Linked DNA regions of Homo sapiens: regions 1 and 3 are each linked to region 2. The links are contacts of gene promoters, found by promoter capture Hi-C in human tissues and cell types (Jung and others, 2019). All regions are on one chromosome and are shown on one strand. Each heading gives the region's core, a stretch centred on a gene start or on the middle of the fragment in contact. The rest is flanking DNA. Distances are from core to core; before and after follow the strand shown.

What was found. The method cuts DNA at HindIII sites, captures the fragments that hold promoters and counts their contacts. A contact is called where the count stands out against the background at its distance.
Region 1: a fragment that was not itself captured here is called in contact with the fragment with the promoter of SCP2D1 in region 2 in 2 of the 25 tissues and cell types used here (spleen and stomach).
Region 3: a fragment that was not itself captured here is called in contact with the fragment with the promoter of SCP2D1 in region 2 in 3 of the 25 tissues and cell types used here (bladder, dorsolateral prefrontal cortex and liver).

The regions. Positions count from the first base shown.
Region 1 is chr20:18,994,981-18,997,829 of GRCh38, reverse strand. No RefSeq gene overlaps it. Among named protein-coding and RNA genes, the nearest start is that of SCP2D1-AS1, 170 kb to the right of the region's middle. The HindIII fragment of the contact is 7,902 bases long and covers 1-2,849 here.
Region 2 is chr20:18,812,127-18,815,222 of GRCh38, reverse strand. It overlaps SCP2D1 (SCP2 sterol binding domain containing 1), which reads right to left and starts at 1,440. Exons shown (of 1, transcript NM_178483.3): 1 at 845-1,440. The coding sequence starts at 1,407. The coding sequence ends at 937. All of the region lies in intron 2 of SCP2D1-AS1 (SCP2D1 antisense RNA 1), which reads left to right. The HindIII fragment of the contact is 11,706 bases long and covers 1-3,096 here.
Region 3 is chr20:18,659,459-18,662,469 of GRCh38, reverse strand. All of the region lies in intron 4 of DTD1 (D-aminoacyl-tRNA deacylase 1), which reads right to left. Among named protein-coding and RNA genes, the nearest start is that of DTD1-AS1, 38 kb to the left of the region's middle. The HindIII fragment of the contact is 7,579 bases long and covers 1-3,011 here.

The DNA of each region.
Region 1 (2,849 bases), core at 44-2,543, 180 kb before region 2:
AAACTTATCAACAGAAGTCATTAGCATGGATGCTGTACTAAATATTGGTAGACAATCCTCCAGGAAATATAACCCATTCTTGGGGCAGTAGACTTCTTCTGAATTCAGACATTTTCAAGTCAACCATCCACTTTCTTAGATTAAAAAGTATTACTGACTCCCAGATGGCAATATAGCTGGACCAAAACCAACTTCCTGAGAGTATTAGCATTAGATACCTACTTTGTGCCTGGCAGTGTACCAGACATTAGAGGGCTTCGGATAAATAGAAACCCTGCCCTTGAGTACTCCAATCCCAGCCAGCCAGCCACCCAGCACGTCAATCATTCATTCATTCAAAGGTGTGTATTGAGCTCCCGTCCATGTTATGTAAAGTCAGAGAGAACTGCTGCCTTTCCGGAGCTTACATTCTGGCTGACTTACTCTCAGGATATTGTTACAATGCAAAGGAAGATGGTTTAGAATCAATAGATGAGGAGCTATACTCACAATGGGAGAAGAGTTAGTTAAGTTTTCTGTAAGACAGTCCAGCAATGAGTATTAAAAGCTATAATATTTTATAATCCTTTGGCTCAGTAAATCCACTTTAAGAAATGTATCCAAAGGAAGTCATCCTATACGTAAATCATCATACATGTGCATGAAGATTTTTTATAAGGTTATTCATCATTGGTATATTGCTTAGAATCATACCAAAAAAAAAGAAATAATCCCAATCACCAATGAGGAATGAATTAAATAAATTATAGTACATTCTTTCATGCAGTGGAATGTTATGTAACCATTAAAGGTTATGTTCTACACATGTTGTTAAGTAAAAAATGGCAGGTCATAATACTGGGTCATCTTCAGGCTTTAATACAACTCCAATCATCAAGCCAGAACTGAAGGGTAATGTATGTTAATAAATTTTCTGATGGTGTGTTTAACAAATATTTCTTTTTTTTCTTTTTTTTTTTTTTTTTTGAGACGGAGTTTTTTGCTCTTCTTGCCTAGGCTGGCTTGCAATGGTGCGATCTCAGCTCACTGCAACATCTGCCTCCTGGGTTCAAATGATTCTCCTGCCTCAGCCTCCTGAATAGCTGGGTTTACAGGCATGCACCACCAGGCCCAGCTAATTTTGTATTTTTAGTACAGAGGGAGTTTCACCATGTAGGTCAGGCTGGTCTCGAACTCCTGACCTTGTGGTCTGCCCGCCTAGGCCTCCCAAAGTGCTGGGATTACAGGCATGAGCCACCGTGCCTGGCCACAAATATTTCTTTAATAATCATATTTTGCCATATTTTCCTTAAAATTCTACTCAGTACTACATCTATTGGGATATCCTCCTATTCTCTTTTTGATCTTTCCCATTCCCCAAAACTCCCAGCTTTTCTGCCTTTCTTCCTCACTACTCTCTTCTCTTCCTTCTCCTCTTCTCTCTCCCTGCACCCCCTCCCCCTTCTCTTCCAAATTCCTCCCCTTCCCTATTTTTCTTCCTTCTGGTATCTCCATGCCCTTTCCTGTATAGATCAACTTGGTCTCTCTCAGCTTGTCCAGATTTCTTTTCCACCAATCTCTCTACCCAGAATAATAAAGACATCCCTTCTCAGAAAAGGAGGGGAGAAATGCAGGCACTTATGATTTATTATTTTGTGTCTTTTATGTATATATACTATTAATATTGGATATATCTGAGTGTTAAGATGTAAAGGGATTTTATCTTATTTGCTTATTCAAATTTTTCTTTGATTTTTCAAAAGTCAACATGCATTTTGCTAAATGAGAAAAAATCTTTTTTGAATGATAAAAATATATTGGACACAGTAGCATTTAGAAGTCTCATAATTTTCCTTGAAGGAATTATAAATTTCCTGTGAATGTTGTTAAAAAATCATGCCATGAAATGGTGACCACCTTCTGGAGAGGTCCAGGACTGCTACAATGTCCCCAGGATGTCTCTAGGAGACATCTTCCATATTGAAACACTGAAGCCATATGGCCTCTTTTCAGTTAAAAATTCCCAACTCCTCTTCTCCTGCTGAGATTCAAATCCCAGCCACAGAAATGACAGGATTCTCAGTGTAGCAGACATGTCATGGAAGAGTGGTCTTTTTTTTTTAATCAACAAGGCCATGTGGTAGGCCACCTGCTTCAGAATGACTCAGGTACTTGGTATAAATGTCAGTCTTACACACTCACCCACTCAACTTTTGTCTTTCACTTTTTAGCCACATACACACAGACATGACTGCCACTGCAATTTACCAAAAATGGCTATGATTGTGACTGTATCTTTAACCTTCTATTACCCTCCCCAAACACCCGTGACTATGAACACGATGAGGACATACTCACATCATATACCTGTCCCAGCTCCAAGGCTGCACCTGGCGATGCAGGGACACAGGTCCTCCCTCATCTCCTCCCACTATTTTGGAATGTTCCCAGCTGGTGTTTTACAGATGTAAAGGCACAAATATTCCCATGTTCTATTGCAGGCCCTTGTCATGGTCCTTGGCCATCAATATCAGTGCCCTCCGTGAGCACACTCTTGTAAATCCCTCCTCCCAGAGCTGCCCAAACCCTGATTCCCAAGGTGCCGGAGCAGAACAGGATGCCTTGCTCCCCTATTCTGTGCTGCACCTCTTTGCCTGGACCTTGAAGTATGGATGCTTGTGCTCAGCATCTCAAAACACCTTGTGTAAACAAGTTCTATTGCCTTTTGTCTCTGGCTCTCCCCCTGGGAATTTTAAGCAGTCTCAGAGGCTGGGCAGGGAACCACCCCTTGCCATCCCTCCCTTCATTTCATCTTTCCTTGTTTACTACCAAAAATCTTCCTCTCTCTTCAACAACAGCATCAGCAAGGC
Region 2 (3,096 bases), core at 191-2,690:
TTGTAAAATGTTCAATGCACAAGCTCCTGACAGCATGGATACTTTATAAATGGCTCACAGAGGGCTGTGGGGTCTGTCTCTGGGAGATCCTTTAATTAATGGCACCATCTCATTGGCCTAGAATAGAATAGTTACAGTCAATACTGAGAGCTTTGGCATGAAGTGAAGCAGAGCTGGAATTCTCTAAGGGTGGTGCCATCAGCATCCCCTGGGAACTTGTTAGAAATGTGCATTCTCTCCAGCCCAGATTTCCTGAGTAGAAGCTCTGAGATGGAGCCCAGCAATCCAGACTTTAACCAACCTTTCCGGTGATTCTGATGCATGCTCCAGTTAAGAACCACTGGCCTAGAACACCTCCCAAGCCCTTCAAGTTTCTTGGAATTGAAACCATCAGAAATTATAATACACCAACAGCACCATCCCCTCTATTGCCTGGGTTCCACCCACAGACCTGTGGTGCCCCATTCCCTTAGCACCCCACAGTCTCATAGTAAAGTTTCCTCATGGAATCAAGTTACCATGCAGAATGCACACCTGCACAATGATAGTTATCACTTCTTTCCCCAAAACATCAAACTTTTTTAGAAAAGGAAAAATGTCTCAAGAACACAATCATTGGAGTATTTAATTCCAATGATCATAATCACCCATTTCTTTACACGTGGCTCTCACCCTGGCATAAATGGAGCATAAAGGGCATAAATGGAGCTAAAAAAAGAGAAAAAGACAAAGATTCTAATTGATGCACTACAACGCTTTTTACTGCTTCAGAACCCTCCCTGAAAATTTACCCATCAACAGGAAAATCAATTAAACTTGAATAGGAAGAATTTGAGTAAAAATATTGGATACTTTTTACTTTAATCTTCAGATTAAGCATGATTTCCACTCGACATTATCATCGAAGAGAAGTTCTTCCTTGGTATTTTTGCATGCTTAAAATTTAGCCCAGTCTTTGAAAACCCTTTCCAGCTTCCAGCTAAGCAGAACCTTGCCACTCACTTTGAACTTTCCGGCAAGGAAAGCCTTCTGCGGGTTCATTTTGCCCAAAACCAGCTCCATAAAGACAGACTCCGGGATTGTAAAGACAGTGTCTGCTGGGAGCCTGGCAGGTCCCGGATACATGTCCCCAGAACCATTCTTCAGATCAATGGTCCACCGCAAAATGGTCTTCCCATTTTTGGTGATGTCCAGCTGAAAGACGGCATTGACTTTCTTGACCAATTGAGCTCCCACTTCCCTGATGTGAAGCCTAATGTCCTGAAACACTGGGAAGCTCTCAAATTCTGACAGCTCTAGAGGATGTGGCATGGCAGGTTCTGGAACTGAACCCAGAACCTCGAACTGGCCCACCAGAGGTCCATCCTCTGCTTTGATCTTGGGTTGATGGTCACTTCTCTTCCACATCTTCCTGTGCTAGTCCCCTGGACCTTGCCATCTAGTCTGTGAGCAGCTGTGACCAGATTAATACCCACAGGTCAGATTGTGACATCAAAGGTAAGGCCAAGTGGGGACTGAAGCTGGTGTGTGTGCTACAGTCTTATTGGCCAAACAAATGATAACGTGTGACCTCAGATAAGGGCTCAGACAGGCCATTGTGAGGCAGATCCACACACACACGCCCCTCCCAAACCAATCAGGGATGTTGGTCCTGCAAGCCCAAAAGGTCTGCAGGCTGCAATGGGGTTAAGGGAAACTGGCCCCAGAAGCTTCTTTAGTGACATGAGCTCTGTCTTTCCAATGCAGACATCTCCTCAGTGAAACCCAACGTGAGACAGAAGTTATTCTTATTCCTCTAAAACTAGGTAACACTTAAGTCCCATTAAGTGGGTAATACTTAAGTTAATACTACAGATCCTAGTGCTGAATTTGGCTTTATCTGGCTGCTGGTAGAAAGGGAAATGCTTTTAGGCCAGAGTAATTGATTGGAGAAGGAATCAGTCCAGGAGCCTGCATCAGAAACTTTCCAGAAGCACAGTGAGACACACACAGAGAGATTAAATGTCCCTAAGATCAGAAGATGCTGCCAGTCTCCTCTGATAATTACACGTAATAGTATAGCCCTTGCTCTGGGCCAAGGTGCAGAGTTCTAAGTACTACACATGTATTAACACATTTAACTCTCATTACAACCCTCTATGATAGGTATTTTTTCTTTTTTTTTTTTTTTTTTGAGACAAGGTCTTGCTCTGTCACCCAGGCTGGAGTACAGTGGCGCGATCTCTGCTCACAGCAGCCTCTGCCTCCTGGGCTCATTTGATCCTCCCACCTCAGTCTCCCAAGTAGCTGGGAATACGGCGTGTGCCACCACACCTGGCTAATCTTTGTACTTTTTGTAGAAATGGGGTTTCACCATGCTGCCCAGGTTGGTCTCAAACTCCTGGGCTAAAGTGATCCACCTACCTCGGCCTCCCAGATAGGTATTCTTTTTATCCCCATTTTACATATAAGGAAACTGAGGGGAGAAATGAAGTAACTTGCCCAATGTCACACAGTTAGTAAGTAGTGTAGCCAGATTTGAGGAGAGGCAGAATGACTCCAAAGTCCACCTGTTTATTTCTTTACTTTTTATTCTGAAATAATTTCAGTCTTATAAAAAGTTTGCAAAAATAGTACCTGTTTAACCTTCTCCCAGCTTTCCCCAAAACTAACATCTTATATAATCACAGTACAGTGATCTAATCTGAGAAATTCACATTGGTTCATGACTACTAACTAATCTACAGACCATGTGAGACCATATCTATTTGGTTGCAGGTCTCCCTAGTGCCTTGCAGTCTGGGGCAGCTCTTCAATCTTTGTCTATCGTTACCTTGACACTTGAATACTGGCCAGTTATTCCCAAAAATGTCCCTCCTTTGAGGACTGCCTGATGCTTTCTCCTGGTTAGGTGGAGGTTATGCATTTGGGACAAGGATGCCACAGAGGTGACCTGTGCTCTTCCCACTGTGCCATAGCAGGCGTCCATGATGTTATGTCCCATTTCTGCCGATGTTGTCCTTGATCACTTGGTTAAAGCGGCTCCTTCAGGCTTCTGCACTGTAGAGTTACTGTTTTTCCCTCTGTGATTAGTATCTTTAGGGGAGGTGCCTTGAG
Region 3 (3,011 bases), core at 210-2,709, 150 kb after region 2:
ACTCAGCATTTGCTGACTGCTTTCCAAAAATACTCTCCCCCCCACCCCCAGCTGGGCATGGTGGCTCACACCTGTAATTCCAGAACTTTAGGAGGCTGTGGCAGGCAGATCGCTTGAGGTCAGGAGTTCAAGACCAGCCTGGCTGTAGCAGGCAGATCGCTTGAGGTCAGAAGTTCGAGACCAGCCTGGCCAACAAAAATTGCTAGTATTATTGATTTTTAATTTTTACCTATCTAACAAGGCAAAACATGGGAGCTTGTAACTTGCATTTCCTGGATCATCAGGAAAACTGAACGTCTTTTCACAACTTTTTTTTAAGAAATGGGGTCTCGCTCTGTCACCCAGGCTGGACCGCAGTGGTGCAATCATAGCTCACTGTAGCCTTGAACTCCTGGCCTCAAGCGATCCTCCCACCTCAGCCTTCTAAGTAGCTAGGACTACAGACTTGTACCACCATGCCTGGCTAATTTTTATATGTTTTGTAGAGACAGGGTCTCACTATGTTGCCCAGGCTGGTCTCAAACTCTTGACCTCAAGCAATCCTCCTGCCTCAGTCTCCCAAAGTGCTGGGATTACAGGCATGAGCCACTGTGCCTGGTCTCTTTTCAAATCTTAATGTCCATTTATATTTCTTCTGGACATTACCTGTTATCAGCCTTTTCTCCGTTTCCTATGGCTCTTCAGCCTTTTTTTCCTTATTGATTTGTAGGTGCTCTTTATGGATTCCAAATATTATTACTTTGTTTAAACAAAGTTTCATAAATGGAGAGGAATACCATGTTTAAAGACTAGAAGACTCAGCTGGGTGCAGTGGCTCACGCCTCTAATCCCAGCACTTTGGGAGGCCAAGGCGGGCAGATCACGAGGTCAGGAGATCAAAACCATCCTGGCTAACACGGTGAAACCCCGTCTCTACTAAAAATACAAAAAATTAGCCAGGCGTGCTGGCGGGCACCTGTAGTCCCAGCTACTCAGGAGGCTGAGGCAGGAGAATGGCATGAACCTGGGAGGCAGAGCTTGCAGTGAGCTGAGATCGCACCACTGCACTCTAGCCTGGGCGACAGAGCAAGACTCTGTCCCAAAAAAAAAAAAAAAAAAGACTAGAAGACTCAACACAGTAAAAAAGTTAAATCTCTGCAAATTGAGTACAGGTTTAATGTAATTCCTATCAAATTCCCAGCATCATTTTTTGTAGTCACAGACAGCTTTTTCTAAAATTTATACAGAAAGGCACAGGTCCTAGAACTGCTTAAAAACATGTCTAACAAAGGAGAATAAAGTGGGAGGAAATACTGTACCCAACATTATGGCTTACTATGAAGCTACAGTGATCAAGATAGAGTGATAATGGCAGAGGGATAGGCACAAAGATGAATGAACAAAACAGAGCCCACAAACAGACCACACAAGTCTAACTAGTTTTTGACAAAGGTATAAAAATGGAGGCAAGACAGTGCTGGATCAACAAGACATCTATAGAAGCAAAGAAAATGAACCTCAGCCTAAAGGTGGGTAGATAAAATCACTGTCAATATCCTGGTTGGGATATTATCTGTGGTTCTGCAAGATGCTTCCATGTTAGGAGAAACCGGGTGAGGGGTACACAGCATCTCACTGTATTATTTCTTACAATTGCATGTGACATATAGTAACCTCAATACAAAATTCAATTTAAAATATTACAAATATTTTTTCCTAGCCTAACTTTTTTCTTCTGAATTTGTTTATGGTATATAGGGTTAATTTTTATCTAGTCAAAATATATCCCCTGGATTTATTTAATATTTTATATTTCACAATTTTCTCAAAGTTGCTAAAATGAGCCGATAGGATGTCTATTTTAAACTCTCTTTATACTAAATAATTTTTTTTGTAATAAAAAGCCTTTTTGTTTTCTTTCTTCCTTTTTCTTTCAGTTTCTGCTTTGCTAAATAAAAGCTTCTTTTTTGGGCCACCCACGGTGGCTCATGCCTGTAATCCCAGCACTTTGGGAGGCCAAGGCAGGCAGATTACTTGAGCTCAGGAGTTCGAGACCAGCCTTGGCAACATGGCAAAACCCTGTCTCCACAAAAAAATACAAAAATTTGCCAAGCGTACTTGTGTGCACCTATAGTCCCAGCTACTCAGGAGGCTAGGATGGGAGGATTGCTTGAGTCTGGGAGGTTGAGGCTGCAGTAAGCCATGATCACACCACTACACTCCAGCCTGGGCAACAGAACGAGACCCTATCTCAAAAAATAAAAATAAAAAATACTTTTTTTTTGAGACGGAGTCTCGCTCTGGCTCCCAGGCTGGAGTGCAGTGGTGCAATCTCAGCTCACTGCAACCTCCACCCTCCCGAGTAGCTGTGATTATAGGCTTCCACCACCACGCATAGCTAATTTTTGTATTTTTAGTAGAGATAGGGTCTCACCATGTTGGCCAGGCTGGTCTCAAACTCCTCTTCTGACCTCAAGTGATCCACCACTTCGGCCTCCCAAAGTGCTGGGATTACAGATGTGAGCCACCATGCCCAGCTGGTAAAAAAATATTTTTTTTCTTTCTTTCTTTCTTTTTTAAAGTTATGGGATACATGTGCTGAACGTGCAGGTTTGCTAACATAGGTATACATGTGCTATGGTGGTTTGCTGTACCTATCAACCTGTCATCTAGGTTTTAAGCCCCGTATGCATTAGGTATTTGTCCTAATGCTCTCCCTCCCTTTTCCCCCCACTCCCTGACAGGCCCCAGTGTGTGAAGTTCCCCTCTCTGTGTCCATGTGTTCTCATTGTTCAACTCCCACTTATGAGTGAGAACATGCAGTGTCTGGTTTTCTGTTCCTATGTTAGTTTGCTGAGGATGATGGTTTCCAGCTTCATCCATGTCCCTCCAAAGAATATAAACTCATTCTTAAAAAAATATATTTTTTGATTAACCATAATAAACTCTATAAAAGACAACATTTAAAAAATTAAACAAACCTGAGCATGACATTAAAAGATATGGTTAAGTAATCTCAATTTCAAGCTTAA